6 separate regions of the Homo sapiens genome follow, and regions 1, 2, 4, 5 and 6 are each linked to region 3. The links are contacts of gene promoters, found by promoter capture Hi-C in blood cells and fetal thymus (Javierre and others, 2016). All regions are on one chromosome and are shown on one strand. The core of a region is centred on a gene start or on the middle of the fragment in contact, and the rest is flanking DNA. Distances in the headings are between cores, read along the strand shown.

Evidence for each region. The method cuts DNA at HindIII sites, captures the fragments that hold promoters and counts their contacts. A CHiCAGO score of 5 or more calls a contact.
Region 1: the fragment with the promoter of LDHAL6A here is called in contact with the fragment with the promoter of HPS5 in region 3 in 6 of 17 cell types (activated CD4 T cells, non-activated CD4 T cells, naive CD8 T cells and 3 more); the score reaches 9.4 in activated CD4 T cells.
Region 2: a contact is called between a fragment that was not itself captured here and the fragment with the promoter of HPS5 in region 3, in 6 of 17 cell types (naive CD4 T cells, naive B cells, monocytes and 3 more). The highest score is 6.7, in naive CD4 T cells.
Region 4: a contact is called between a fragment that was not itself captured here and the fragment with the promoter of HPS5 in region 3, in 1 of 17 cell types (neutrophils). The highest score is 5.3, in neutrophils.
Region 5: a contact is called between a fragment that was not itself captured here and the fragment with the promoter of HPS5 in region 3, in 2 of 17 cell types (total B cells and naive B cells). The highest score is 6.5, in total B cells.
Region 6: a fragment that was not itself captured here is called in contact with the fragment with the promoter of HPS5 in region 3 in 2 of 17 cell types (naive B cells and total B cells); the score reaches 8.9 in naive B cells.

Annotation. Positions count from the first base shown.
Region 1 is chr11:18,454,152-18,458,163 of GRCh38, reverse strand. LDHAL6A (lactate dehydrogenase A like 6A) reads right to left here and starts at 2,308. Exons shown (of 7, transcript NM_144972.5): 1 at 1,358-2,308. The coding sequence starts at 1,483. The HindIII fragment of the contact is 8,824 bases long and covers 162-4,012 here.
Region 2 is chr11:18,501,580-18,505,627 of GRCh38, reverse strand. TSG101 (tumor susceptibility 101) reads left to right here. Exons shown (of 10, transcript NM_006292.4): 7 at 3,051-3,142. Among named protein-coding and RNA genes, the nearest start is that of TSG101, 23 kb to the left of the region's middle. The HindIII fragment of the contact is 690 bases long and covers 2,280-2,969 here.
Region 3 is chr11:18,320,840-18,325,165 of GRCh38, reverse strand. HPS5 (HPS5 biogenesis of lysosomal organelles complex 2 subunit 2) reads left to right here and starts at 3,026. Exons shown (of 23, transcript NM_181507.2): 1 at 3,026-3,220. GTF2H1 (general transcription factor IIH subunit 1) reads right to left here and starts at 2,599. Exons shown (of 15, transcript NM_005316.4): 1 at 2,426-2,599. RefSeq lists enhancers at 2,622-3,041, 3,052-3,351, 2,242-3,441, 2,579-3,528. The HindIII fragment of the contact is 9,902 bases long and covers 1-4,326 here.
Region 4 is chr11:18,559,834-18,563,880 of GRCh38, reverse strand. The region is part of intron 6 of UEVLD (UEV and lactate/malate dehyrogenase domains); the gene reads left to right. Among named protein-coding and RNA genes, the nearest start is that of UEVLD, 27 kb to the left of the region's middle. The HindIII fragment of the contact is 5,555 bases long and covers 1-4,047 here.
Region 5 is chr11:18,098,397-18,102,446 of GRCh38, reverse strand. The region is part of intron 2 of SAAL1 (serum amyloid A like 1); the gene reads left to right. Among named protein-coding and RNA genes, the nearest start is that of SAAL1, 5.7 kb to the left of the region's middle. The HindIII fragment of the contact is 8,611 bases long and covers 1-4,050 here.
Region 6 is chr11:18,114,119-18,118,402 of GRCh38, reverse strand. It overlaps the pseudogene SAA3P. Among named protein-coding and RNA genes, the nearest start is that of SAAL1, 10 kb to the right of the region's middle. The HindIII fragment of the contact is 2,382 bases long and covers 467-2,848 here.

The sequences.
Region 1 (4,012 bases), core at 1,059-3,558, 130 kb before region 3:
GGGCCCTGGAACCTCCCATCAGAAGCCCCAAAATTCCCTCCACTCCTGCAACCAAAGCCAAGCAGCAGCTGGCAGAGGTAGGAGTTCCAGGGATATGGCTCAGTCCCTCCCTGAATGGCCCTTCAAAGCAGAGGTGATAAATAAATCTTTTATTTCAAGCTTTTCTATATATATTACCTGTATACTTATCTATTCATGCAATTAGAGATAGTCTATTCCTTTTTTCTCCTCTAAAAAGTAGGTCTAATATTTACTTTCCAGGGTTGTAATATTGGATAATGCATACAAACATACTGTTATCATTATTACTGATGTTAAAAAAAATGTGTTGGGCAAAGCAAGGTGGCTCACATCTGTTATCTCAGCACTTTAGGAAGCCGAGACCTCCTGCTTGAGGCCAGGAGTTTGAGAGCAGCCTGGGCAATACGTGGAGGCCCCATCAAACAATCAATGAGTCACAGATGTGTTGGTTTTCACGTGTGTGTATTCTTCATTAGCAGTGAGGACACTGCTGATAAAGGCATTACAATAGGTAGGACAAAATGAATCATGGGGAATTTGTATGGCTGGCAGGAGCAGCAGTTGGCTGTGGCTGCTGTCCTTAGTGCCATAAGGTCACTATGTCATCTAGATATGAAACCCAGAGGCAATCCTTTAAATCCAATGACTCATGCCAGGATTAAAGGTTATATAAAAGATGGCTAAAACATTTTACAGATATTTCATTAATAAAAGTATAGCTCAGAGTGTCTTATGATTTATTAAAACTTTATGGTAATAAAGTTCATATCAGGGTAATATTCTTAGAAAGGGGTCAGAATCTTTTTTTGGCCTCTGTCTATAGCCATAAAACTTTATCAGCTGTATCAATACTAAGAACAGCTAAACACTAAAACTAACCTAACATGAATAAGGAACGAAGGGAAATAAAGATATACAGACTAGGAAATGGGAGAGAGATATTTAAATGAAAAAAGATTATTGTATTTGGTACTCGTAGGCTGCCTACCATCACTGACACGCTTGTATACTCTTTTCTGCCACCTATTTCTCTCCAGTTTGTTTTGTGAGCTGAGTTTCCAAATCAAGCAAAGGGGTACCTCATATTGTCATTACGTGAAAGTGAAATGTCAACATACTTTCACAGAGATGCTTCTAACCCACATGATATCATCATACAATTTTTAAAAAGGAGCGCCCTCTGGGTGAACAACTAAAAAAAGGGCACCTTTTCCTCTGATGCCCCTCACACTGGCTCCCCACTCACCACCTTGAACTGGACACAACCTCCACAACCATACGCTGTGGCCTCGCCTCCAACTGAGGTGAACCCTGTGGTGCAGAGCACACAACTTACTTTTAATAAGATGCTGATAGCACAAGCCACACCAACCGATCCAGTTCCTACAATGGAGATCTTATTGTGATGAATGGCCTCCTCTTCCGCGAAATTCTTAATAAGTTCACTCTTGATAGTTGCCATCTTGGAAACCTAACAGTGAAGACAAATTGCACAGCCATTTCCAAGACCTGGAATTGGAAATGGCTTGGAATTCCAAGACCTGCGGTGAGAGCGCGTATAGAGAACTCCTGGGCCCGTGTGGAAGGAGGTGCTGCAGACACACAAAAGACCGACAAATCTGACCAGCAAAGAAGCTGGGTAGGTTCTGGCCAGGCAGCTCAGCATCCATGAAGCGGACCAGGGGAAGGAGAAGGAAGCGTGAGTACAGTTAAGAGGAATTAAGAGAGAGAGAGAGGAAAGGAACAGGGGTTGCTCCACCAAACATGAAACTACAGCTGGGACGGCACTCCGTCCCGCAGCTGACCCCCTTTTCTCTCCCCTTTACCCTGCTGTTCCCCCAACCTCCAGTTCTCAGCTCCAGGACTGCGCCCGGGGTCCGCAGGTCCAGGTGAGAGGTACTTCTGGCCACACTCACAGGGGTGAAGGGCCACCCGCGCCCGAGCAGGTCACATGCCGCCTGGCGGAGACACAGAACCATCCTTGGGCAAAAACAATTCGCTCCCGCGGCGCCCGCTCTCTGGCTGCTCCCCAGGACTCTTGCAGCCCAGCTCATGGCCACTCACTCAAGAGGTGAAGAAAGAGAATGGAGGAAAATGGCGTTAAAGCTCATCGAGGCACGAAGGAGATGAACCGCCGACTAACAGACGCCGGGTCGCCCCCTTACTGCAGCTGCGCGGACCGCACCCAGCTCGTGCAGGCATCGCAGGTGTGATGCTTGGCAGGTGTGATGCTTGGCAGGTGTGATGCTTGGCAGGTGTGATGCTTGGCAGGTGTGAGGCCGGAAGCGGGCTGCGAAGCACCGCGCCTGCGCCTCTGCCTGCCCGCCCCGCCCCCGCGTGCGGGTGGGCGGGCTGCGGTGTAGGTGGTTGGCCGGCTGCAGAAGGCGCACGAGGTGCTGCAGGCACAACGCAGTGCAGGGCCTCTGCTGTTGGGCGGAGTTGTTTGCCTAGAACCCATCCACCAGAGAGCCCAAGTAATTTTATTTCTAACCAAACCTTGTCTGGATGTATCTGAAAAGGACTGTTTGACTCTCACGTGAAAATTTTCCCCCAGCCCTGTAGGAGAAAGGGACCTCAAGATTAACTTTTACCACCTCAAATGTGAGCTAAAGTAGAAAAAGTAAAATTTTAAAACTCTGGGCCGAGCGTGGTGGCTCACGCCTGTAATCCCAGCACTCTGGAAGGCCAAGGCGGGCGGATCACCTGAGGTCAGGGGTTCGAAATCAGCCTGGCCAACATCGTGAAACCACGTTTCTACTAAAAATACAAAAATTAGCTGGACGTGGTGGTGCACCCCTGTAATCCCAGCTACCTGGGAGGCTGAAGCACAAGAATTGTTTGTGAACCTGGGAGGCGGAGGTTGCAGTAAGCCGAAATTGTGCCACTGCACTCCAGCCTGGGTGACGGAGTGAGACCCTGTCTCAAAACAACAACAAAACTCTGTATGCAAAAGGAATTTGGAAATAAGATATGAAACCTGAAGAATTTGATGAATGCAGTGCCAATTGATAACCATTTTTACAAGATGAAGGGAAAGCTCAATTCATTATTAAGTGGTTAAATGTAGAATCCACACTTTGGGAGGCCGAGGCGGGTGGATTAGCTGAGGTCAGGAGTTCGAGACCAGCCTGGCCAACATGGCGAAACCCCGTCTCTACTAAAAATACAAAAATTAGCCGGGTGTGGTGGCACGCACCTGTAATCCCAGCTACTCAGGAGGCTGGGGCAGGAGAATCGTTTGAACCCGGGAGGCGGAGGTTTTGGTGAGCCGAGATCATGCCACTGCCCTCCAGCCTGGGTGACAGAGTGAGACTCCGTCTCAAAAATAAAAAACAAAAATGTAGAATTGAAAATCAGTCTGGAATAAACCAAGGTTTCTACTTCTCCCACCACATTTTACCTAATTGTTTTCTCATTTGTGAATCATAATACGTAATTTTGATGGTTAATACTGAGTGTCAACTTGATTGGATTGAAGGATGCAAAGTGTTGAACCTGGGTGTGTCTGTGAGGGTGTTGCCACAGGAAATTAACATTTGAGTCAGTAGGCTAGAAGACGCAAACCCACCCTCTATCCGGGTGAGCACCATCTAGTCAGCTGCCAGCACGTCTAGGATAAAAGCAGGCAGAGGAACGTGGAGGGACTAGACTGGCTAAGTCTTCCAGCCTTCATCTTTCTCCTGTGCTGGATGCTTCCTGCCCTCAAACATTGGACTCCTAGTTCTTCAGCTTTGGAACTCCGACTGACTTTCTTGCTTCTCAGCTTGCAGACGGCCTATTGTTGTGGGACCTCACCTTGTGATTGTGTGAGTCAATACTCCTCAATAAACTCCCCTTTATATATATAGCTATCCTATTCGTTCTGTCCCTCTAGAGAACCCTAATACAGTAATACATATTGACAAATTTTTATAAAATGTAGAGCAGTGTTTCTCAATCTTTTTTCATTATCACTCCCTCAAGAGTCTTTGTAGATATGTTCCCCCTAATT
Region 2 (4,048 bases), core at 1,375-3,874, 180 kb before region 3:
TCAATGATAAATAATTACTAACCCATGTTTTAAATGTGTACTTGTTTCAGTGGTAATCTAGGAGTACTCTCCAAAGGTGGTCTATGGGCTAACTTAAAATCCCACCCAGCACTTTGGGAGGCCGAGGTAGGGATTGCTTGAGCCCAGAAGTTGGAGACCAGCCTGGGCAACATAGTAGACCTCATTTCTACAAAAAAAATTAAAATTAGCCAGGCATGGTGGTGTGAACCTGTAGTCCCAGCTACTTGGGAGGGTGAGGTGGAAGGATCACTTGAGCCTACAGATCGAGGATGCAATGAGCCGTAATTGCACCACTGTACTCCAGTCTGGCCAACAGAGTGAGAACCTGTCTCAAAAAAAAAAAAAAGATTGGCATATACTGATGCCAAGATGAGACTTCCAGCTGCTCTAACAATTAGCAAGGAAAATTTAACTCTACTAAGTCTTCTTAGTTTCATATAACCCAGTCATAATCCTCATGGATAAATGCAGCCAGATTTCTGAACACATGTCATAGGTAAATATATATATGTACATATATAATATCTAGGATCTTGAAAGTTAATTTAGCAAACACTTCATTTCTGGGTTGTCTTAATTTCACAACTTTTTAGAAGGTAATAAGCATTCTGTCACTTTGGATAGGTAAGCAGAGATTAGAAGAACATTTGTCAGGGACAATAGAGAAAGATTCCTTTGGTAGTAATATATAAGCAGGTTATTCATTTTAGATTTCTTGAGGCCCTAAATTTTCTGATTAAGTTCTAGAAATGGAATCCTACCTGAAGCCTTGAAATTACAAGGCTACTGAACAATTGCTAGTAAAAAGCAGCTTTGGACATAGAGGGAATAATTGTTGAAGGTACACTATGGAAATGGACTTCTGAACAATAAAGCTACAGATGGAGATTTCTCTGAAGTTAATATCTGTAGGCTTAGAAGAGTTTTATACCAAGTTACAAAAAAATTCAGCAATGTGATCACATTATCTTTGCAAAGGTATGCAAAATGGGAGAAACTCCAGAAAAAAAGAGCAGTTTATCCCAGTTTTCAGAAAGGTGGATTTAGAAATTTCAGTAGGATTGACATTTCTTTACAGCATTATAGCATGGATTACTGAAGAGACTAGAAACAAAAGTACTGTGTTCAGTAGCCTCCAGCATGTGTCCACTAGGAACAAAAATGCTTTCTTTTTTTTTTGTCTGATTTTGCTTTTATACTGATATATAAGAGAAGTACCATGATTACATTGAATCTTCAGCAAGTCATATATAAAACTTAGTTGAGGACAAGTTATAAAGTGGAAGCTGATAATACAAATAGGAGAATCTTTGAACCACTGCATTGAAAAAGGATTATTGACGATAAACTCAGAAGGAGCTCTTGCTCCAGTGTCCTAGGCTAGCTTTTTTTTTTTTTTTTTTTTTGAGATGGGGGCTTCACTCTGTTGCCCAGGCTGGAGTGCAGTGGCATAATCTCAGCTACTGTAGCCTTGACCTCCTGGGCTCAGGTGATCTTTCAACTTCAGCCTCCCAAGTAGCTGGGACTACAGGTGTGTGCCCCTACACCTAGCTAATTTTTCTATTTTTGTAGAAATGGTTTCGCCATGTTGTCTAGGCTTGCCTTGAACTCCTGGACTCAAGTGATCTACCTGCCTCAGCCTCCCAAAGTGCTAGGATTACAGGTGTGATCCACTGCACCCAGCCTGGGCTAGCTCTTTTTAATCAGTAATTTTAATGCGCTTGTAAAAGGCAAATGTCATAGAATTGATAATTATAGCTAAAATAGGATTAATTGAGATTTATTGTCTAACTAACCAGGTGGCCAGTAATCATCCTATTCTAATTTTCTTCTTCGTTGTAAGGGAAACACTGACTAGTAAGCATTCAGAGGAAAGCAATTAGATCTGAAAATCATGTCCTGAGACAAATGGTTAAAGGAATTAAGAATAGTTAGGGCTGGGTGCGGTGGCTCACAGCTGTAATCCCAGCAGTTTGGGAGGCTGAGGCGGGTGAATCACGAGGTCAGGAGATTGAGACCATCCTGGCTAACATGGTGAAACCCCGTCTCTACTAAAAATACAAAAAATTAGCCGGGTGTGGTGGCGGGCACCTATAGTCCCAGCTACTCAGGAGGCTGTGGCAGGAGAATGGCGTGAACCCAGGAAGTGGAGCTTGCAGTGAGCTGAGATCACACCACTGCACTCCAGCCTGAGCAACAGGGCGAGACTCCGTCTCAAAAAAAAAAAAAAAAAAAATTTAACCTGAAGAAGAGAAGCTTGAGGGAAAAATGTTAGAAGTTCTCAAATATTCGAGTTTTAGGAGTCTCCAAATAGTTGAGTGTCTTCCAAAATGCAAATTTAGGACTCCTATTTATAAATTATATTGAAATGATGTTTAATGTTAAATAGAGAAAGATGACCATTTGTCAGGGATGTTATAAATGATGTGTGTAGATAAGAGATTGTTGGAAAGGTGATTGGAGTAGAATACCTCTAAGGAAAGTTCCTCTGACTTTGATACGAATACATGAATGACAGAAACTGTCCAGAAAGTGAGAAAAAAGGTTTTTTTTTAAACTAAAGATGAGTTTGGTACGAATGTTATCAAAAGAGGAAAAAAACTATTTAAAGACAAGTGTTTTCGGGTTAAATATCCCCAAAGGTTACCAATAAGCCACAGGTACAAATTAAATAGTATCATTTTCCCACAGACTGAGAAATCGGAAAAGTTCTCTCACAAATTACTTGTTGCTTCTGATGCTGTTGGATTGTCCTTAGAAATACTCTAGTTACATTTCCGCTGCTATGAGGGTGACTCTCATATAACTGGGACCAAGCAAGAGCATTTAGCCATTTAAGAGTAAATGCAGTGTCATTAATACAATTTCCATAGAGCTTTACTTGAATAAACACTTGCAGCTCCAAGACTATAAATTCATCAACTGGTAAAACAACCATATGTCAAGCTTAACTTCCTGAATGGGGTTCTTCAAAATACTATAAGGTTGGGTCATCTTAAATGTTAAATGTTTTTTGTTCTTGTCTTTAGTGGTTACCCAGGCTGTCCTTACCCACCTGGTGGTCCATATCCTGCCACAACAAGTTCTCAGTACCCTTCTCAGCCTCCTGTGACCACTGTTGGTAAGTACCCTTGAAAACTTGTGTTTCACCATATAAGCAAAGTCTAACTCCCTGTTGTGAAAAGCACATTTCACTTGTGAATTTTGGACTACTCTTTCTTCTTAGAGGAAAACCTATAATAATGTACTATAATCTTAAACTTGAAGTAAATGACTTAACATATAAATGAACCTTCTACCAGGGCATGAAAATAAATCTGATTAACTCATCAATCTTTCTTTTGATCACATAGTTTTATTTGTGAGCCAAACATGTGTTGAACTATTAGCAGATACATAGATTTTCCTAGCTTGGTTATATGTGAAAACAGATCACCATCATTAAGAGAAGAAAGTAAAATGGGTTAATATGAGCAGGTCAAATCAGACAAATGATTGAAGACCAGTAGTTTTTGCTTTTTGTGTTTGCTTATTAGCGTTACCTGAAATATAATTTTCTTCAACTAAAAAAACTAAGGCAGTGAGAGAATTTCTTTAGACTCCAGCCTTCACCTATGCCTATCTCCCACTACCTGCACCACCATATCTGCCTTCTCCCTGTTACCATAAGTTGGTTATCTTTGCTTCTATCTAAAGCTGATTTCTCCACTAGACCTTATCCCCTCTAATGTACTCAGGGGCATCACTTCAGCAGTTCCTTCCTCTCAAGTTTTGTTCTCTACTGGATGACTCATCAGCACAGAGAACCATGCCCTAAAAAAGCCTTAAAGAGTCCAATTGAGACAAACAAATGGAAAGACATTTCATGCCCATGAAGAATTAATATTGTAAAAATGACTATATTACCCAAAGCAGTCTGTAGATTCAGTGCAGTCTGTGTCGAAATACCAATGTCAGTTTCCATAGAAATAGAAAAAGCTATCATAAAATGTATATGGAACCAAAAAAGAAGCCAAATAGCCAAAGT
Region 3 (4,326 bases), core at 1,777-4,276:
GGAGATAGGGAGCAACAAGTGAAAGAGAAATCTTCTGAAAGAAGGATTACTAGAGAGCACTGTTATATCTGCCAGCATACAAAAATGGAGATTTGGAATGCTGCTTGCCATCAAGCAATCCAAAAGTGTTTGAACAATTCAGCATTAAAGGGAATAACTTTATAAGTATGTAAAGAGTGACCAAAATGTACTGTTTTAAGGATAATTTCACAGACAAGGAAGATATTAAGGAGAATAACTGATGTGGCAATTTTAGGACTGAGCACTTGTACATTTTACAGCAGTGCAGGGAAGAGGCAGGAGGAAAATGCGACAGAGATGCATGACAGAAGAAAATATGCTCATATCCATTAATAAATACTGCATGCTGACAAGAGTATATTACCAAAATTGAGAGAAGAGTAATCAGTTGGTAATCAAAGTGGTGAAAAGAGGAACTACTAGGTCAATGGCTGATACTGCCACACTGAAGGCAGGAAAGAGAAAGGAAGGGCACAAAGACATCTCTATCAGCAGTATGCATAAGGCAGAGATAAATGGTGGCCAAAATGCTAGGAAAGCTCAAGGTATGCCAGACAACATTCTGATGGTAGGGAATAAAATAGCACAGAGAAGCAGGTTATCAGAGGGCAGGACACATGGTACCAGCAGGGAGAAGTTACAAGCCTTGAGGGCAGTACACACAGGAAGCATTCACAACCCAGGACTGGTGCTGGTCGCTGGCTTCACTACTTTTAACTGATTCTTCTCCCACACTGCACCAAGTTTCCTAGTATTTTTCAAAAGCCCTCTCTGAATTTGCTTTGATTTTTTTTCACATTTGTACTGCAATGTGTATTTTATATCACCTAAGAGAGACTCAAACTTACCAATCTGTTGCACTGCTACAAGTCGGCTGAATGGCCTGGTCAACATGGTGAAACCCCGTCTCTACCAAAAATACAAAAATTAGCCAGGCATGGTGGCGTGCGCCTGTGATCCCAGCCGCTGGGGAGGCTGAGGCAGGAGAAGCCCTTGAACCCGGTAGATGGAGGTTGCAGTGAGCAGAGATCGCGCCATTGCACTCCAGCCTGGGCAACAAGAGCAAAACTCCGTCTCAAAAAAAAAAAAAAATGTCGGCTGAGTGAGGATAGCAGACCATCTCTTTTTTCTCCTTTCTGAATGAGGGACTTAAGCCTGCTAACAGGTACAAAGTTCTCTCCAGAGTTTAGTCCTTCTCTAAGTCCAAGGCCTGCTACTAGAGGTTACCTTCCCTGCGGTTGTGACCTCTCCATCTCAACTGCTCTGGTTTTGTCTTTTAAAAAATCTTAAGGTTGGCAACTTTGGCTTAATTACCTAAGTCCAGTTCAGTGGTTTTCAAACTGTGTTCCAAGGAGTGGCCTCTAGGATAGAAGTTAAGTGGGGTGGTGGGGCCTGGCCCTTTTAAATTTAGTTCCACCAGAGCATGCTGCTTTATATATTGGGTTCCAGATAAAAATTCATGGGGAGAAATTGTTCCACTCCTTTAAAATGTTTGAAAATCACAAGTCTGGATATTGGTTTGTATGGAGTCAATACTCACTGCAAAGCACATTTCATTCAAACCACTCAGTTTTTTTTTTGTTTTTGTTTTTAAGACTGGGTCTTCAAATGGACAAAGGGTGTATTTTTCATATCTTCTTTCCCCATCCCCATTTTACTGATGCTAAAATTGGAGTTTAGGAGTCATTTGGGGCCAGGCACTGTAGCATAATTCTGGCGCTTTGGGAGGTCTAGGCAGGAGAATCGCTTGAGCCCAGGAATTCGAGGTTACAGTGAGCTATTATCACGCCACTGCATTCCAGCCAGGACGACAGAACAAGACTCTGTCTCTTAAAAAAAAATAAGAAAAGTCACCTCCTTATTTAATTTGGCCTTTGAGAACACTGGGGGATTTACAAAATAATTACATATATCCAGGTACTCATGGTCTATTTTTCATCATTACACGACAATCAAATGACCAAAACTAGGAGTGTGTGGACTGGCACGTGTTAAGGTTTTTAAGAGAGGTAAGATTGACAGGTGGAAGCAAAAGGTGTGCAGACAACAAGGTGACAGCTTTTCTCTTACAGAATCCCAGACTCAACAGCACATTTCCTGACGGGAAGGGCTTCTCTGTCTGGGAGAGGCCTCCACTTCATTCTCATAAGCCAAATCTGATCCTGGCTTTGGGTAAACCTGCTCTCAATTTAAGAGCAGGTTTCCTTTAGACAAGTAGATTAGGGGTCGCCTCTTCCTCGCCTCGGGATAAGGGCAAACAAGACGCCAGGCTTGGGCGTTGGGAGGACGGCGACAGCGACGCTGGGAACAGGGGTAGAATCCACGCCGTCCAGCGGCCCCCAGGCCTGTCAGCTCCTCACCCGCCCACCCACCCGCCCGCCTGCATTCTTCGGTCTAAACTTACCAGGTGGAAGCTACAACTCTAGACAGGAAGTAACTAACTGGGTTGGATCCGGTCGAGTTCCGCTGCGCTTCTTAGAGCCGCTGCTGGGAAGAGGCCGAAACCCAGTGGCCGCAGCAGTAGCCACCGCCTCTGTTACTAGGGGGTCTCGCCTCCATCGCTGGCTGCGAGGAGTCTGAGGGCACGTGACCGGAAGTAGCAAGGCGGGCCCTGGGCACGTGACTCAAGAGCGCGGCCGCCATGACACCTTCCGCTAGTTCCCTCCCTCCCCCACGGGTTCCCGCCTGTTTCGTTTCCTCTCTCCGGTCTCGAGCGGCGAAGGGTCCTGGGATCCTGGCTGGCCCAACCATTTGGCCTAGAGCTCCTCCGGTTCCAGTCGGCGCCGTGTCTCCAGCCCGCAACGGCCCTGCGGTCGCAGGCCGTAGAGAGCGTAATCGCGACCGCGGCCTGAGGGGGAGGGACCACGCGGAAGGAGGGGCGTGACTCGTCACGTGATGAGGAAGTGCCGTTAGTAGCGTTGTTTCCAGTCTGCGGCTCTCCTGGATGACGTCAGCAAGGAAGGGGAGGAACGCGAGGGGAGACTGAAGTTCACGTTCCGCTCTTAGTGCGCGGTGAGTTCCCCGGCGCTAAGCCGGGAGACAAGATCCGATCTACTGAGAGCTGCGAGGTACTGCCCTGGATGTGGTGGAGCTGGGCTGGGACCTCCGGGCTGCTGGTCTGTGAGCCTGGCTTTGAAAATTGGTTACTGGGTCTCCTCTCAAGAAATCTCAAGATATTAAAGTTACTGCTGTTAAAAAGGTAGTAGTTCCACTAGGCAAGGAGCTTTTTGTGGGTAGGGATTGTGTTTTGTTCATCCCTGTGTCTCTAGCGGTGTGTTCAGGTCCTGGAACATAGTAGGCACTCAGAATGTTGAATGAATGAATGTATAAATGAGTCAGTCGCCATTTGTCTGAGGCAGAGAGTTGTTTTCTGATCATTTCTTCTTGGATAGAAAGATCCCATTGTGAAAATGAGGCAGTCTGCAACTTCCCCTTCTCATTTCTTCAATTTTTGCTATCTTTCTTACTTCTTTCTCCTCTTCCTCCACGCACCTACTGGGGCAAAAGAGAAACATGTTTGCATTTGATGTGTGAGCAACAAACACTGAACTATTTTACGATAATGGAAAGATGAGATTTGGATTCAGGAGACGCGTATTCTAATCTCAGCTCTACCATTTATGAACTCTGTGATCCTTGGGCAAGCCAGTCTCCCAAAAGTTGTTTCATTTACTTTGGTTAAGCATTTGTCGCCAACTTCTATGTTCTTAGTTTTTGGTAGAGTGCCTTCACAGAAGTAACATTTAAACTCAGCTTTGCAGAAAGGTAGGGTTTTGGTAAATGGGGGAAGATTCCATAAACATCATATATTAAACCATGGAGGCACAGCAAGTTTATGGAATGAAAAAGAAAAAAAGAGTCGAGTCCAATGTAGTTGGAGAATAGAGAGGTTAAGATGGGAAATAAGGCTGGAAAAAGAAGCAGGGAGGAGATAACAGATTTTCAAGAAATAGAGCTGTTGAAGGCTTGTACAATATTATGTATATATTTTTTAAATTTTATTGTGGAAAATTTCAAACGCAGACAAAAGTAGGATAATAAATTGAACCCTCATGTACACTTAACGCAACTTGAACAATTATCAGCATTCTGCTGTTCCTCTTTATACTGTTTGTACATTTCTAGGTACTTTTTATATCCATTGTTGCATTTGATTAATAGCAGCTTTCAATTTGAGCTCAGTTCTACTGTATGTAGCTACTGGCTAAGAAGATTTTATTTATGTAAACAATTTCTTTGGGTTTTAGTTGACCACTTGCTCTGTTGAATCAATGTGTAACATGGCCACTTAAACACAACTAATAC
Region 4 (4,047 bases), core at 1,012-3,511, 240 kb before region 3:
GGCATGCGCCACGACGCCCAGCTAATTTTTGTATTTTTAGCAGAGACAGGGTTTTGCCATGTTGGCCAGGCTGGTCTCGAACTTCTGACCTCAAGTGATCCACCTGCCCTGGCCTCCCAAAGTGCTGGGATTACAAGTGTGAGCCACCGTACCTGGCCTGCTATTACCTCTTAATTAGAATTTGAGTTGTATTCAGTCTTTTGTCACTAAATAAATGCTTCTATAAACATTTCAAGTTGCTTGTTTTCTCATCTGAATTTTTATTTGGTCATACATTATTTTATTTTATTTAGACAGGGTCATGTTCTGTTGCACAGGCTGGAATGCAGTGGTGCAATCTCAGCTTACTGCACCCTCCACCTCCCCAGCTCAAGCCATCCTCCCACCTTAGCCTCCCAAGTAGCTGGGCTTACAGGCGCCAGCAACCATCCCCACTAATTCTTGTATTTTTTTGTAGAGACAGAGTTTCACCATGTTGCCCAGGCTGGTCTTGAATTCCTGGGCTCAAGCAATCTTCCTGCCTCAGCCTCCCAAAGTGCTGGGAGTACAAGCATGCCCCACTGCACCCGGCCTGGTTGTACATAATTTTAAAAAATAGTACTAGTGAGTCAGAGGGCATGAATGGTTTTTATAGCACTTATGACATAGTGCCAGATTGCTCTTTGGAAAGGCAGAACTAATTTATGCTGCTAATAACATGCACATCAACCTGATTTTTGACATCCCTAACAGTACTAAGTTTTATTTATTTGTAATTATTTGTCTTTTTTTTTTTTTGGTAAGCACAAGAAGGCATCTGAAAGTCTGAAAGTCATGGTTTTTCATTTTTGTTTTTGAGACCAGGTTTCTCTCTGTAGCCCAAGTTGGCATGCACTGGTATGATCATGGCTTACTGCGGTCTCTATCTCCTGGGCTTAAGAGATCTTCCCACCTCAGCCTCCTGAGTAGCTGGGACCACAGGGGTGTGCCACTACACCTAGGTAATTTTTAGTTTTTTTGTAGAGATAGGTCTCCCTGTGTTGCCTAGATTGGTCTTGAACTCCTGGTTCAGACTATCTTCCTGCCTTGGCCTCCCAAAGTGCTGGGATTACAGGCATGAGTCACTGCTCCTGGCCATGTTTTTAAACTGTTAGAAGAATCTCACTGTCATTATTTGTCTGTGAATTGTCTGGGTGGAAAATTTGCCGTTTTTCAGCTGGGCCCGGTGGCTTACACCTGTACTCCCAGCACTTTGGGAGGCCAAGGCAGGAGAATCAGTTGAGCCCAGGAGTTTGAGACCAGCCTGGGCGACACAGCGAGATCCCCATTTCTACAAAAAAAATTTTTTTTTTTTTCTTTGGAGATGGAGTCTCGCTGTGTCTCCCAGGCTGGAGTGCAGTAGCATGATCTCAGCTCACTGCAACCTCCATCTCCCGGGTTCAAGTGATTCTCCTACCTCAGCCTCCCGAGTAGCTGGGATTACAGGCGTGTGCCACTACACCCAGCTAATTTTTGTATTTTTAGTAGAGAGGGGGTTTCGCTATGTTGGCCAGGCTGGTCTCGAGCTCTTGACATCAGGTGATCTGCCTGCCTCAGCCTCCCAAAGTGCTGGGATTACAGGTGTCAGCCACTGCCTCCACCCTACAAAAATTAAAAATTAGCTAGGTGTGGTGGTGCACACTGGTAGTCCCAGCAACTTGGGTGGCTGAGGATTGCTTGAGCCTGGGAGGTTGAGGCTGCAGTGAGCTGCGATTGTGCAGTTGCACTCTAGCCTGGGCGACACAGTGAGACCCTGTCTCAAAAAAAAATTCTGTTTTTCTTTTTAGACGTTAATATTTTGATACAAAGTACAATATTCATAGGCCACTATTATGACTGCAACAGTGATAGTACTCATAATAGTGGCAACAAAAGTAGTGGTGGTAGCAGCAGCAACTAACCTTTACACAATGCTTATTAGGTACCAGGCACTTGTCTAAACACTTGACTCTTTTTTTTTTCTTGAGATGGAGTCTCGCTCAGTCACCCAGGCTGGAGTGCAGTGGCGCAAACTTTTTTTTTTTTTTTTTTGAGACGAAGTCTCGCCCTGTTCCCCAGGCTGGATTGCAGTGGCGTGATCTCAGCTCACTGCAACCTCCTGCCTCCTGGGTTCAAGTGATTCTCCTTCCTTAGCCTAAGATTACAGGCACCCGTCACCACACCTGGGTAATTTTTGTATTTTTAGTAGAGACGGGGTTTCACCATGTTGGCCAGGCTGGTCTTGAGCTCCTGACCTCAGGCAATCTGCCCGCCTCGGCCTCCCAAAGTGTTGGGATTACAGGCGTGAGCCACCGTGCCTGGCCAGTAGTGTGACCTTGACTCACCACAACCTCTGCCTCCCGGGTTCAAGCGATTCTCCCACCTCAGCCTCCCAAGTAGCTGGGATTACAGGTACGTGCCACCATGCCTGGTTAATTTTTGTACTTTCAGTTGACATGGGATTTCACTGTGTTGGTAGGCTGGTCTGGAACTCACTCCTGACCTCAGGTGATGCACCAGCCTCAGCCTCCCAAAGTGCTGGGATTACAGGCATGAGCCACCGTGCCTGGCCCACTTGACTCATTTTTACAACAACCCTTTGTTTAGGTACTGTTATTACTGACATTTTACAAATGAAGAAACAAAGGCATAGGGCGGTTACCCAAGTTGCCCCAAATTACACTGTTAATAAATGATGAAGCGAGAATTTAAAGACCAGGTAATCTGTTTATCAGAGCCTGTATTCTAGATCCTTACTAAACAAAGTGTGGCTTTCAAACTAGCAGCATTGGTACCACCTGAGTTCTTGCTAGCAATGCATAATCCAGGACCCTTCCCAGACCTACTGAAACAAAATCAGCATTTTTTTTTTTTTGAGATGGAGTCCCGCTCTGTCCCAGGCTGGAGTGCAATGGCGCAATCTCCACTCACTGCAACCTCCACCTCCCGGCTTCAAGAGATTCTCCTGCCTCAGCCTCCCGAGTAGCTGGGACTACAAGCATGCGCCACCAGGCCCGGCTAATTTTTGTATTTTTGGGAGAGACAGGGTTTCACCATGTTGGCTACGGGGCTCTCAAACTCCTGAACTCAGGCAACCAACCTGCCTTGGTTTCCCAAAGTGCTCAGATTACAGGGCTGAGCCACCATGCCCGGCCAAAATCTGCATTTTAATAAAATCCCTGGTGATAATATATGCTTCACGGATTGATTACATGGTGACATTTTAAAACTTTTTCAATCTCTGCTATAAACCACTATATTGTCTCGTTGTTACTGATGAACGTTTTGTTGTTCCTAGTCTTATGAATATCCTTAATATTGTACTCTTTTACACATGTACTGATAAATTTGTAGGATGATTTCTATAAATGAATTGATGGATTCAAGAAGTTAATGTTTTAAATTTTTGATAGAAAATTGTCAAATTATCTTTTATTAATTATACCAGTTTATTCCCATACCCATAATATGTAAGAATACTTATTTTCCTACAACTACTGCTAAACTTTTGGATTTTTTTGTGCCTTATAAATGAAAATGGTAACTCATAGTTTTCTTTGCATTTTCCTTATGGGTATGGTTAGCAATAAAATTAATAACTATGTTTTAGAGGGGATTACTATATGCAAGCCCTGTGTCACATAATTAATCCTTACAACCTCATAAAGTAAGGCCGAATTCAGTGACTGTCCTGGTGTTACATAGCTAATACATAGTGTAGCAGGGTTATTTTCTTTCTCTCTCTGTGTGTGTGTGTGTGTGTGTGTGTGTGTGTGTGTGTGTGTGTGTGTGTAGAGACGGGGTTTTGCCATGTTGCCCAGGCTGGTCTGAAACTCCTGGACTCCAGCCTATGCCCATCCTGTCCTTCCAAACTGCTGGGATTACAGGTGTGAACCACCGTGCCCAGCCAGGGTTGTTTTCTTTACCATCACACTTTCTGTCTGATAGTCTGGTAGATCTTTGGGTACTTTTGCCCGTGAATCCTAAAATAGGAGATATCTTCAAGTCTCCTACTACTTTGAAGAAAGACCTTCCATAAAGGTAAACTGA
Region 5 (4,050 bases), core at 1,066-3,565, 220 kb after region 3:
CTGCATATTGTTTTGAAGTATCATTGACATTGATTTTTTTTTTTTTTTTGAGATGGAGTCTCTATCACCTAGGCTGGAGTACAGTGGTGCGATCTCAGCTCACTGCAATCTCCGCCTCGAGGGCTCAAGTGATTCTCCTGCCATAGCGTCCAGAGTAGCTGGGAGTACAGGTGTGAGCCACCAATCCCTGCGAATTTTTATATTTTTAGTGGAGACAGGGTTTTACCCTGTTGGCGAGGCTGGTCTTGAACTGCTGACCTCAAATGATCCATCCTCCTCGGCCTCCCAAAGTGCTGGGATTATAGGAGTGAGTCACCGCACCCAGCCAATAAACTTTGACGGATGTGTACGCAGATTAAGCTGTCACTGTAATCAGGATACAGCGCATACCCATCACCCCTGAAAGTTTCTTTATGGTCCTTGGTAGTCTCTTCCTCTTGCCTCTCCATTCCTCCATCCCCTCCAGGCAACCACTGATCTGCTTTCTGTCACTACAGATTAGTATGTATTCTAGAGTTTTATATGAATGTGCTCATATGCTTTTTTTGGTCTGGCTCTTTTATACAGCATAATTATTTTGAGATTCATCCATGTTGTGTATATCAGTGGCTTTTTTTTTTTTTTTTATTGCTGAATGGTATTCCATTATATGTATATACCACAATTTATTTTTTACCTGTTGATGAATGTTGGAGTTGTTTAAGGCTTATTACAGATAAAGCTGTTGTGAACTTTTGTATACAAGTGTGTATGGACATATACTTTGTTTTTCCTTGGGTGAATACCTAGAGTGGTGTGTTAGTCCATTCTCATACTGCTATAAGGAAATACCTGAGACTGGGTAATTTATGAAGGAAAGAGGTTTAATTGACTCTCAGTTCAGTATGGCTGGGGAGGCCTCAGGAGACTTACAATCATGGCAGAAGGGGAAGGGGAAGCAGGCACCTTATTCACACGGTGGCAGGAAGGAGAAGTGCGAGCAGGGGAAATGCCAGACGCTTATAAAACTATCAGATCTCATGAGACTCACTCATTATCATGAGAACAGCATGGGGGAAACCACCCCCGTGATTCACTTACCTCCACCTAGTCTTGCCCTTGATACGTGGGGATTATGGGGATTGCAATTCAAGGTCAGATTTAGGAGGGGACACAGAGCCAGACCATATATCAAGTGGCATGGCTGGATCATACGGTAGGTGTATGCTTAACTTTTTAAGAAACTTTCAATTTGTTTTCCTAAGCAGTTTTTTACCATTTTACATAACCACAAGCAGTGTATGAGACATAATTCCAGGTCCAATTTCTCCTCAACCTCACCAACACTTAGTATGGTCAGTCTTCTTAATTTTAGCCATGCTAATAAGTATGTAATGATAGCTCATTGTGATTATAATTTGGACTTCCTTAATTCCTAATGATGAGCATCTTTTCATGTGTTTATTTGTACTCTGTGTATCTTTTTTGGTGAAGTACCTGTTTGAATCTTCTGCCTGCTTTTTAATTGTGTTGTTTTCTTACATTTTCTTCTAAAAGTTTTATAATTTTAGGTTTTACATATAAGTCTGTGATCCATTTTGAGTTGATTTTTGTATAGTATATGGTGCAAGGATGGATGAAGTTTATTTTTTTGCTTATGGATATTTAATTGTTCAAGTTCATTTGTTGAAAAGACGATCCTTTCTCCACTAATTGCTTTTGTGTCTTTGTCAAAAATCAGTTGTCCACATACTTTATAGTTTGAAATCTTTTCTTTTTAAAGATAGACATCAAGCACTATAGAATTTTCCCTAAATATTTATGCTTTACCAGTATTCCACAATTTCTGATATGCTGTGTTTACAATTTTTTTTGAGACAGAGTCTCGCTCTGTATTTTTTGTAGAGATGGGGTTTTGCCATGTTGGCCAGGCTGGTCTTGAACTCCTGGCCTCAAGTGATCCCCCTGCCCCGGCCTCCCAAAGTGCTGGGATTACAGGCGTGAGCCACCATGCCCGCAGAAGTTCAGAATACTTTCTAATATTCTTTACTTTTTCTTTGGTTTATAGGTAAGTTTCAAATATTTGGGAATGTTTCAGTTATCTTTCTCTTGCTGTGGTTGGTGAACACTGAATCCTTTTAAATGTGTTGAGATTTGTTTTATAGCCCAGAATATGGTTTTAAGTAAACCTGAAATATTTACCATGTTGACTTAAAAAGCATGTGTGTTCTGCTGTTGCTGGGTGGAATATCTTATTCTCAATGTCAGATCAGGTTGGTTGAGAGTATTGTTCAGATCTACTTTCTATTCTACAATTATTGATAAATTATGGTTAAACAAATTTTTTTAAAAAGAAATAAAACCTGTGTTTTAAATGAACTCTTAGGGTGAAAGTCTCAGTTTTAAAATTGAGAAAACAGCGCTACTGTTTGAAGGAGGTTATTGGTGCAGGGCAAAGTCATGTTCTTTGGCCTCCTTTTGCTCCCTTACAAGAGGTGCCCTTGAGGCACCACTCAGAACTGAGCTCTCCACTGACAATTGAGGTCCCTGGCGCAAAGTCTGGTGAGTTTATATCTCAGTCTTGTCGCCTATCGTTCTGTAACCATGAATTCAGTGTGCGAGGACCAGAGACCTCCAGATACTTCCTGCACTTTCACGTGTCCATGGGCACTATTCATGCCGCTCTGCTTAGAATGGCTTCCAGCTGGCAAAATCCTTCTCATTGTTTATGGCCCGGCTTCAATGTCACCTCCTCTGTGATGCCACCCCAGACACTCCAGTCAGAATTAACCTGTCTTGTTTTGGTGTTCCCACAGAATTGCTTCACTCTGTTACATGTGTCCTCTGATGGATTTAAATTCCTTCTCATCAAAGCATAATGTCACCCCTTCTGAAATGCCTTCTTTTCAATGTCATGTCTAAAGTAGCCCGCTTTATCTTGGTTTCTAGCACATATCTTATTTTCTTTGTAGCATTTAGAAATTGTGTAGTTTAGTTGTTTTATATTTATTGTTTGTTCATTTCTTTAGAATGAAAATTCCATGGGACTGAGCCCTTATTTAGCTTGTTCACTGATGTATCCCCAGAACCTAAAACAGTGCCTATTAGGTTTTTCAGAAAATATTTGGGGAGTAATGAATGAATAGATGAATACCTGAGAGGTAGCATGTTGTGCTGGTTAAGAACATAGTCTCGCTGGGTACTTGCCTGTATTCCCAGCTATTTGGGAGGCTGAGGCAGGAGGATCACTTGAGCCCAGTAGTTGGAGGCTGCAGTGAGCTATGATAATGCCTGTGAATCTGTGAATAGCCACTGCTCCAGTATGGACAGGATAGCAAGACCCCCATCTCTTTTAAAAAACAAGACCATAGGCTCAAATCAGACTCATGGGTTCAAATCCTAGCTTTGCTCTGCTGAGACTGTATAATCTTGGGCAGGTTGCTACACTTTTTAAACTTCAGTTTGCTTATGAGTGTAATGGGGCTAACAATGATAACTAGTTGATAGAGTTGTTTTGAGAATTAAATGAGATAGCATGCAAGCCACTTCACTGTGCCTGGCATTTAATACTTGTTCAATGAATGTTAATTTTATTACTGTTGGTGTTGATATTGTTAGGCCACCCTTGTGCTACTCCAGGAATTACCATTAAATTTAAAAATTTCTGCATGTGGCAAAGAATTGCCCACAGGACAGCTTGATCACTTACAGTGAAGAGAATCTGCCATTATGACTTTCAGTTTAGAGTGTATCTTTGAAAATACTATTTTCTCTGACCATGGTCCTTTAGTAAGTAGAGTGTGTCTCTCTCAGTCAGTTGTCTGGCAGGTTACTGGTTTCACTTGCTGTGGAGAATAATTGCCTGTCTCTTTGAGATGTTCCAGGGCCCTTAATTTTCACATAAGCCATGCAGCTTATATTTTAAGTTAAGGCTTCTCAAATACACACCTCACATTTAGTGAAAATCTGAAGCAGTGGACAGCCAGAGACTTAATTTTATTTATATATTTTACATTGCAGGTCCCCAAGCAAACTGACTTAGCTTTTGTGTCTTACATTCCTAGGTGAGAT
Region 6 (4,284 bases), core at 408-2,907, 210 kb after region 3:
AAGTCCCTGTCAGCATTAATCATTTAATCCTCACAACAACCCTACAAGGGAGTTGTATTTTTCTGCATCCTTCCTATATCTACTATTCTGGTAACTAGGATTCATTAAATGTGAATTTTTTGAGGGTAGTGATTTTGTATCATTATTTTCTTCATTTTATATTTAGGGAATATAAAGTTCTTCCCGCTGGTCTTCTAAGACTGGGGCTTAGGTCTGAGATGTCATTCTTAGTCATGATACCTGTGGACTTTTGGGCTTTTCTGATTTTTGTTTTTCTAATTCCTAATAGAATTAAGCCTTAGTATTCTCCTCTTCTACTTAAATTAATTGTAACTTAAAAGAATGGAGGTGTCTTGGGCCTCTCAATCAGCCTGGTCACACAAGGTTATCAGAGTAGTGCTACCATCTGATTTACTGTTCAATCCAGGCCATTGTAGACAATGAAAAGATGTGCCACTATTAAGCTTGGACAATAGACACTGATCTCATGCAAACCAGCACACGTAGTCACTTGTAAGAGACTGTTGGAAAATCCCTTTAAGGCCTGGGGACTCTGATATCATGACAGGAAATCTTTCTTTTTCAGGAGAAACAAGTGAAAAGAACTGACTGCCGTTATTGTCTATTATTCTCAGCTTGGCACCATAAGAAACTGCGTGTACCTTCCCGGAAGGCAGAATACATTAAGTAACAAAGGAAGAAAACAGGCAAGGCTTGTCAAAGTCCCTGTGAGGAGTTCCTCTTGGTATCTAGAAATCATACTCGCTTTCTTGCTCTTTTTCCTGTGAGTCAGTGTGTCACTTTGTCACCCAGGCTAGAGTGCAGTGGTGTGATTATGGCTCACCATAGCCTCCAACTCCTGGGCTCAAGCAGTCCTCCTGCCTCAGCCTCCTGAGTAGCTGGGACCACAGGTGCATACTACCACACCCCGCTAATTTAAAAAATATATATACAGATATATAGTGGAGATGGGGTCTTGCTATGTTTCCCAGGTTGGTCTTGAGTTCCTGGCCTCGAGTGATCCTTCTGCCTCAGCCTCCCAAAGTGCTGGTATTATAAGCATGAGCCAGTGTCTCCACGCCACTTGCTTTCTAATACTTCTGTATTAGTCCGTTCTCATACTGCCATAAAGAAATGACTGAAACTGGGTACTTTATAAAGAAAAGAGGTTATATTGGTTCATGGTTCTTTAGTCTGTACAGGAAGCATAGTGGCTTCTGCTTCTGGGGAAGCCTCAGGAAACTTTCAATATGGCAAAGGCAGAGCGGGAGTGAGGCATCTCATATGGTGGGAGCAAGGACAAAAGAGAGTGAGGGGGGAGGTACTGCACACTTTTAAATAACCAGATCTCAAAAGAATTCACTCACTATCACGACGACAGTACCAAGGGGGATGCTGTTAAACCTTTCATGAGAAACAGCCTTCCTGATTCAATCACCGCCCTCTAGGCTCCACTCCCAACATTGGGAATTACAATTGAACATGAAATTTGGGTGGGGACACAGATCCAAACCATATCAACTTCTATCAAAGAAGAGAATGACTTGAATAAAACGAGAAAGTAGATTTCCAGCATTGAATGGTTCCAAAGGGAGTAAAATAATTGTGACAGGATGTGATCATTGGCCCTCAATTTCTGCCTGAAGAAGAGTAGGAAAAAGGAGGTCTGGACATCACATGCCCTGCTTTATGAAGCAGCTCCTCCAAGTACACCATGACCAGTGGCTGTGGATGGTTGACAACTCCCCTCCTCTTCCCCCTCTTCTACTGTCTACTCCTGGGACCAAGTGAGCCACGCCAGCTCAGATACTACACTGACCACAGGGAATCCCACCTTTTCCAAGGAATGGAAGTTGTGTAGGGAATATTCAAATGTTGCTTAGCATTGCCTTAGATAAGAACCAAAGGGACAGGGAAATCCTCTGACAGCTATCTGCCTTATAACTTTCATTTTACTGTGCCTAAAATATGCTCAGAACCCAGAAAGAGGCATAATTCCTAATTTTGGCAGGCTCTAATCTAAAATAATGATTCTCAAACATGGTGTGACTTTTGTCTATTTGCTTTATCCTGGGTCACTGCTCCTCTTCTGTCAGATACTGGGATTCCAATGAGACAAATGGAAATGGAGACGTAGACCCTCTGACCTTCTATCTTTTATCTATACACATACACCTGTGTGTGTGTGTGTGTGTGTGTGTGTGCGTGTGTAAAACCGAGTGGGTTTTTTTCTTGGAATGAAAGAATGGACTAACATTACAAAAAATAAAAACTTGAAACAGAATGTGTATTATCCTTGGTTGTGTTTCCTTGGCCCTGCAGCAGGATGAAGCTCTCCACTGGCATCATTTTCTGCTCCCTGGTCCTGGGTGTCAGCAGCCAAGGATGGTTAACATTCCTCAAGGCAGCTGGCCAAGGTGAGGTCCACAGGATAGGGGGCAGGAGGCTGCTTCTGGCTGCCCCCAGGATGCAGCTGAGCAGAGGCCACATCCCCACTGGGCAAAGGTGCTAGTGATGCCACAGATGGATAGAGAAGGGGCATGGTTTTTCATAAGCGTGGTTCCTCATGCTTTTCTGGACAGCTTTGACACTCTTCTATGAGGATCCTCCAGCCGAGGTCGCATAAGGTGTGAGCTGCCTCTTTTCAGCAGGACCATGAGAGAGATGTGGAGTTGAGGGGTGCATGTTCCCATAATACCGGTGGGGCTCTACTGCCCCCTAGTGGGAAATCTGGGACAGTTCATGTCTATGTCTCCTGGGAAGCCAGGAAGCAGGTGGATCAAAAGTGTGAGGCGAGTCCATGGGGAAGCTGAACGGAGCCAACCGTCCCCATAAAAACAACCAAGCTTAGCTGAGATTTTAATACGTACTAGGCACTGTTTAAATGTACTAATGAATTGGTTTCCATCATTTAGTCCTATGATGCAAGCAGCATTATCCCTTAACAGAGAAGCTAACACACACACACACACACACACACTAACACACACACACACACACACACACACACAAACCCCAAGATACGTAAAGAAGTTCCAAAGCAGAGCAGGATTAACCCAGGCAGTCTTGCTCTGCAGAACTTGCTCTTAATCAAGGTACTCTGCTGCTTTCAAAACAAGAGTTTCGGATTTGTGAACACATAGCTCATCCTTTATCTAAGAAATGGCAAATAGGATGTGGTGCCTTTGGAAGGTAAGTCTAGCTCCACTTATCCCAGTAAAACCTACAGTGAATTACCTTGATGGTGGTTCTACTGGGGCTTATATATGGCCAGGAAACTGCTAGCAAGAGAAATATACCCCGAGGGCTGGGCACAGTGGCTCACACCTGTAATCCCAGCACTTTGGGAGGCTGAGGTGGGCAGATCACCTGAGGTCAAGAGTTCGAGACCAGCCTGGCCAACATGGCGAAATCCTGTCTCTACTAAAAATACAGAAATTAGCCGGGTGTGGTGGCATGCGCCTATAATCCCAGCCTCTCGGGAGGCTGAGGGAGAAGAATTGCTTGAACTCAGGAGGCAGAGGTTGCAGTGAGCTGTGATCACACCACTGCACTCCAGCCTAGGAGACAGAGCAAGACTCCATCTAGAGAGACAGAGAGAGAGAGAGAGGGAGAAATATACCCCACTAGCCATAATAAAGTGGCAAAATTTTGTTTTCAGAATGCAGTATTTTAAATTTCAGGTATTATTATTTTTCTGAGTCTCTGAAAAATGGTTTTAAGGATTTGCTTTTAATCCTATTTACATGTTCACACACTCAACTACAAATATCTTTCATTCCTTAGGTTAATATTTTTCAAAGGGTTGTTCTGGGACCACTTGCGTGAGAATCACCTGGATTCTGGGATGCTTTGTGAAATGAAATGAAGATTCCCGGGTCCATACCCTACCCCCTGCCCCCAGCAGCCACAGTCTCTTGGGACAGAGCCTAGAAATCTTGCCTTTGCTAAGCACCTCGGTAGATTTTTATGCACAGCAAAGGTTGAGAACCACTACCTCTTGTTTTGCTGCTGAAAGTGATAAAATGTGCCAGGAATTTTGGAAGTACTTATTAAGCCAATCTGAACATCAAGGAGCCATTTAAGTCAGTAACTCAGAGGAATAAGTAGAGTAAAAATGTCATAAACTCTCAATAAAAGCAATCAATTTAACACCAGGAGTAATAAATGCATAAAATGAAGATGAGTTATCTAATAGAGAAATTATATAAACCATGATTATAACTCTATATTTGAGTTCCCCCTTTTCCGTAATCAGTTAATTTTCTAAAAAATCTTCGTCAC